2 separate regions of the Homo sapiens genome follow, and region 1 is linked to region 2. The links are contacts of gene promoters, found by promoter capture Hi-C in human tissues and cell types (Jung and others, 2019). All regions are on one chromosome and are shown on one strand. The core of a region is centred on a gene start or on the middle of the fragment in contact, and the rest is flanking DNA. Distances in the headings are between cores, read along the strand shown.

Region 1 (3,052 bases), core at 173-2,672, 89 kb before region 2:
AATTTGCTTTCTGATGATTTGGAAAATAATGACTTTGACAGAGAAATGCCATAATTTGAGCTAAACTACCTCTTTATTTTAAAAAATGATAGTCCTACACCTGTGACTTTAAAACTAGCTCATTTTGGGCAAAGGACATGAACGGATACTTCTCAAAAGGTATATAAATGGCCAAGAAACATGAAGAAATGCTCAGCATCACTAATCATCAGAGAAATGCAAATCAAAACCACAGTGAGATACCATCTCACACCAATCAGAATGGCTATTATTAAACGGTCAGAAAATAACAGCTGCTTGGTGAGGCTGCAGAGAAAAGGGGGCACTTGCACACTATTGGTGGGAATGTAAATTAGTCCAGCCACTGTGGAAAGCAGTCTGGAGATTTCTCAAAGAAATTAAAACAGAGCTACCATTTGACCCAGCCATCCCATTACTGGATGTATACCCCAAGGAGAATAAATAATTCTGCCAAAAAGATAAATGTACACATATGTTCATCACTGCACTATTCACAATAGCAAAGACATGGAATCAACCCAGGTGCCCATCAGTAGTAGATTGATAAAGAAAATGTGGTACATATACACCGTGGAAGACTACATAGCCATAAAAAAATGAAATCATGTCCTTTGCAGCAGTGTGGGTGGAGCTGGAGGCCATTATCCTAAGAGAATTAATGCAGGAAAAGAAAACCAAAATCCACACGTTCTCACTTATAAGTGGGAGCTCAACATTGGGCACACATGGACATAAATATGGGAATAATAGACACTGCTGACTACTAGAACAGGTAGTGAGGGGAGGGTGGGTTGAAAACCTACCTGTTGGGTACTACGCTCTACCTAAGTGACAGGATCTGTACCCCAAACCTCAGCATCACGTAATATTCCCATACAACAAACTTGCACATGTACCCCCGTGTCTAAAATAAATGTTGACAATTTTTTAAGTGGCTCATTTTAATGTGTGATCATTAATTTTAGGTTATCTATAAAGAGGATAATACAATAGGGTAACTACACAACATAGATAATAAAAGATATAGAATGGCACACCTGTTGACAACCAGCATGCCCAGTACCTTTTTGAGCCTAAATCACCTTGGCGTAGAAGCAGGACTGGACGGGAAAGCTTTTATATCCACCTGTAGGTGGAGTTAGGTGCCTATTCTCAATGTTCTCCTAGGATACTATGTATACCTCTATCATAACATTTATTAACTATCCAAAATAGGAGCAACATGTTCTCACACTTCTCCTCCAGTGGAGATTGAACCTTAAAAGGGTAGGGCCTGTGTCTTGAGGCTCAGCTCAGTGTCTGGTATATAACAGGCCCTCATTATACGGTTGTTAAATGAGTCAAAGTAGATACTAATGTCATTCCTTTGCCTAGAGGAATAAGTGATCAGGATTATATGAAATCTGTATTTATGTAATGTAGATGTATCAAAGTCTTAGGTTCCTCAAATCCAAGAGAAAGAAAATCTGTAATTTTTTAAAGACAGCCTTGAAATATCCCACTGCCTTCTTGACCTAAAGTTGAAATGCATATATTAATTGAAACACATATTGATACAGTTCTATTAAGTGTTCTGGTAATGCATTAATTATATACCATTCTATCTTTCCTTCTGTTCAGGACTTGTGCCATTCTCATTGTGATGAGTCTGTCATCCAGAAGAAGATTACAACTATTATCAACTGCTTTATTAATTCCAGTATTCCACCAGCTTTACAAATTGACATTCCAGTAGAGCAAGCCCAGAAGATTATTGAACACCGGAAGGAGTTAGGACCATATGTATTTAGAGAGGCACAGGTAAGAGATCAGGGCATGTGGCTAAGCATATTTTAAAATAGATTGACAATCCTTTTAAAGATAGATATCCTTTTGGGCCAGGCGTGGTGGCTCACGCCTGTAATCCCAGCACTTTGGGAGGCTGAGGCAGGCAGATTGTTTGAGCTCAGGAGTTTGAGACCAGCCTGGGCAACATAGTGAAACCCCGTCTCTTAAAAAAAAAAAAAAAAAAACCTAAAAAAAAGTAAATAAAAATTAAAAAGATAGATATCCTTTTAAAGCTTGTACGTTATTCATATTTGACAAGGTTCCAGTCCTCCCAATACTGGGACTTATTCTATTTAATTTAAATAATCTTTGCATATGTGACTGAAATATAAAAAGCTAGTAACTTAAATGCAGTTTTTTTCGTGATCATATACAGTAAATAAAATTAAATATTACCTTTTGGCTTTCCATGGTTACCATTTTTGTTTTTAACTTGTTAACCTCCAGCTAATTCCTCCTTTCTTTTCCACTATTGGTAATTCCTTTTAAAATATCTGCTACCACAAAAATGTGTAAAATATGTGTGTCCCAAGATTTGTGTATTTTTAAAGATTGGAATATTCACATAGCTCATAAAATAAGTGAGAAGAGATTTAAGAACTCTACCAACATAAAGTATACAAACTCATGAAAGGAAAATTGTGCCTGTTAACCTGCTCAAGTTACTTCTTTTTAAGATAAATAATAGAAAACAGTGACTTGGTGAACATAATTTATTTGCATTTTAAAAAGCCTTTTAGTGATGTTGTTACTAAAAAATGATTAAGAAAAATAAATTATAATAGGGGTAATAGGGAAGGCCATGTCATGAATGAAGTGATATGAAACAGAGACTTAGGGTATTATTGCCCTTGAGCATGGAAAAAGGCGATTATTCTTAGATTCATTTGAGAGCCAGCTGTGTTCTAAGTCCTCTAAGGAACTAAAAGTGGACTCACAATCCAAATTATGCATTAAAATAGGCAGAAATATAGAGGAATGATTGAGGACGTGCTATAGAGAAACATGGTGTCAGAATGGTAATATCTGTTAATGAAAAGATCTTAGAGATAGCTTAACCTAGCCTGGGTTTTCTAGTAACCAGGCCAGGACTTACCCATCGATACCAAAGGCCTTGAGTCTGACGGTAAATGTCTGGAGCTGCCGATACCTTTCGGTTCTGGTATACTCTTCAGGGACTGTAACCAAAGAATTTTATTGGAGT
Region 2 (2,938 bases), core at 173-2,672:
CTGCATATACATTATCCCATTTAATTTACATCACAACCCAACAAAATGGGTACTATTTTTAGAGGAGAAAGCAGACTTAGAAAGATGAAGAAATTTGCCGCTACAAGTTGATGAGCTGGGACTCAAATCCAGGTCTGTTCGGCTCTAGAACAGAACCTATATGTAACATGTCTCTCTTCATCTATCGCTCAGGTTTTATTCACGTGTCACCCTCAGTCATTCACTATGGTTCACTGGATAGCTAGGGAAGCACAGAACAAACACTCAGTATTTCACTCAGGTCAGGCTCTGTGCCCTGAGTGTGCCTGTCTTTGCCATGTTCTCCCAGCCAATGTTTTCTCTCCAATTTCTCCAGTTTTCCAGGCTTTCCATTAGACTGAAACTCAGCTCTGCTTCCATCTCTTCCACGTATTGTCTGAAGCTTTCCCTGATGGTTTCACATACACTAATCCCTGTGAACTCTTAAGTTCACCACTTCTTCTCTGGGGGTGGGGATGGAAAGAGAATAGAAACAAATTACTCTCTGGACAAATTCCATGCAAAGATTTTCAGCTGGGTAGACCCTTGATAAGAGGCCTGAAAAACGTTGGTAAAGTCCAAACCTACTTTTGAACCTCAATTGAGCACCTTTCTTTGTGGCCAGGTTTCACCCTCCAGAGTGTTGGTTAATAGGTTGAGGACAAAGACTCCCTGATCAGAATGAGACTCCCCGAAGATCTGTCCTCTTGTTTAGCAGAATCTGGCACATAGTAGGTACTCAGTGTATATATCGACTCAATATCATGCATCTGTTGTGTCCCAGCTACCTTCCACAGGGCTTGATGGGTTGACTTAAATAATGCTTTTAAAATTCAGGTTATTTCAATACAAACAGCCTGGCATCATTAAGGCACAAGAGCCTCACCCTTCTACACCACTTTCCACGAACTTCCAGTTGCCTTCCTTCAAAATCCTTGTTTTCTTAAGAAACCCACAAAAATACCGCCCCTCTATCAAAACGTCCTCAGCTTTGCCAGGTAGAGAATTGCTTCTGCAGTAGCTGGGCCACGTCTCTGTGGTAGTGCCCACTGCATGGGATCGGTATTAATCTGTTTGTCTTTTTCATCTTCTGGGCTGTGAGCTCCTAGAAGTCAGCTTTTTCACTTTTACCCAAGCCAAACGGTTATTCGCGTAAGGTTGGTTATAATTAAAATGTCGGTTTGTGCACATGGTTTGGGACTCTGTGTATGAGTACGACTAATATCTTCAATTTACTAAGAAGATAAAGAGGTCGATAAATAAGGAGGTCAAGCCCGTTTTGCAAGGTCACACAGGAAAGAAGCAGACCACGAAATGAACTTCGGCTGTCACCTGCGGTGGGCGCACTAGAGGTCTTTTGAACTCCTTCGGCTACCGTCGCCGCGTTCTCGCTGTGCACTCTTATTCTGCGCCTGCGCGCGGCTACAGCACGGTTCGTTTTTCCTTTAGTCAGGAAGGACGTTGGTGTTGAGGTGAGTCCGGTCCCTTTTGCATCCCTACCCCGACACTGCGGGTTGTCACAACGGCACCCTCCCGCTTTCTCTCTGCCTCGGATTTAGTCGTGACTGTGTGTCTCCGCCGTGGTGCAGCTTCAGGCCTCTCCCGCATCTACTCTCTCACGCTTCCGCTGCGGCCTGAGGGAGGGCGGCGGGCGGACCACGGACCGGGGTGGGTTGCGACGGCCCCACCGAAGCCGGGTGGGCTGCGGGACCCTCGAGAACCCAGCTGGCTTCGGAGTGAGCTGGCCCGGGGCTGGTACCCGCTGCGCTTTTTCACAGCCATTGTGACCTTGGTGAGGTCATTTGACCTATCTGGCCCCGGTGTTTCTCCCGTGAGAAAAGGGGTGGTGGTTTCTAATGCAGCTGGTCGTGAGGCGCAAGGGTTAGTGTAGGCGAAGCAGCTGGCAGCGTCGCTCGCTGTGTGGCAGCGTTTTAAATTAGAGCTGGAAAACTGGAGGAGGGTCACCGTACCTGCCGCAGGAGGGGAAGGATGGGCTTCCTGCAACCTCCCTTGCCCCACGGCTTCCCATCCTACCCCCGGCCGCGTTAGCTGAAGGCCAGCAGGGACGCAAAAGTTTTTAGGCCCCTTAGGTCTTTAGGTGAGGCTGGGCAAAGGAGCAGTTAGGGAATTTGGGCCCTCATGGTATTTGCCGCGTTCCCGTCCAGGTTTTAATGGTATACCGTGTGACCGTGGAAAACACCTGCCTCATGATCTGACAGGGTTGTCGCGAAGGTTTAACGAGTGGACAGAAAATTTTTAGAAGAGAAAGTGTTGCATAAATGGGTTTGCAATCGTTAATTACCAATGCGGAGCTACTGCTTATTTTTCTTGTTGTTGGAAAGATTTTTGTTGCCTTTGCTCGTCCATTACTAGTGTGCCGCAGTTTGTCGCGTTTATTTAGGGTGGTCGCTCAGTATATGGGGGGCGGGGGGAAGATGAAACAGGCTAAGCCAAGAGACAGCTTAGGCTTTGTGGGAGGAATCCATCCACTGTCGTGCTGTGCCTCTCTAGGTAGTAAAATGTACTATGCATGAGAATTCCTTTTGATATCTTTTCTGAGTTTTTCTTTTATTATTTTACCCGAGAAAGGGAAAAAAAGCTCAGAGTAGTGAGAGCTACATGAGGTATGCAGGACGCAGAGACCTGAGTATTGGACTTCAGTGCCGCCCCTCACCCATGTCTCAACCCAAATCTTATTCCTGAATTTGTGATATAAAGGACAGCGTTTAGTCAGTCAATAGCTTATGTTATTTTAATGTAAATTTTTGATAAACAGTTTAGGAATTGCCTCTCATTTTTTCTTAACTCACTTGTAGGCCGGAATCCCAGCACTTTGGGAGGACGAGGTAGGATGATCACTTGAGGGCAGGAGTTTAAGACCAGCCTGGGGAGCATAGCTAGACCCTGTTTCTGCCAAAAA

What was found. Contacts are between HindIII fragments. The study calls those that stand out against the background at their distance.
Region 1: a contact is called between a fragment that was not itself captured here and the fragment with the promoter of COX6C in region 2, in 3 of the 25 tissues and cell types used here (adrenal gland, bladder and heart right ventricle).

What each region holds. Positions count from the first base shown.
Region 1 is chr8:99,980,706-99,983,757 of GRCh38, reverse strand. RGS22 (regulator of G protein signaling 22) reads left to right here. Exons shown (of 28, transcript NM_015668.5): 22 at 1,642-1,821. Among named protein-coding and RNA genes, the nearest start is that of SNORD77B, 22 kb to the left of the region's middle. The HindIII fragment of the contact is 3,789 bases long and covers 1-3,052 here.
Region 2 is chr8:99,892,191-99,895,128 of GRCh38, reverse strand. It overlaps COX6C (cytochrome c oxidase subunit 6C), which reads left to right and starts at 1,422. Exons shown (of 4, transcript NM_004374.4): 1 at 1,422-1,490. RefSeq lists a silencer at 1,641-1,810 and enhancers at 1,284-1,931, 1,932-2,580. The HindIII fragment of the contact is 7,152 bases long and covers 1-2,938 here.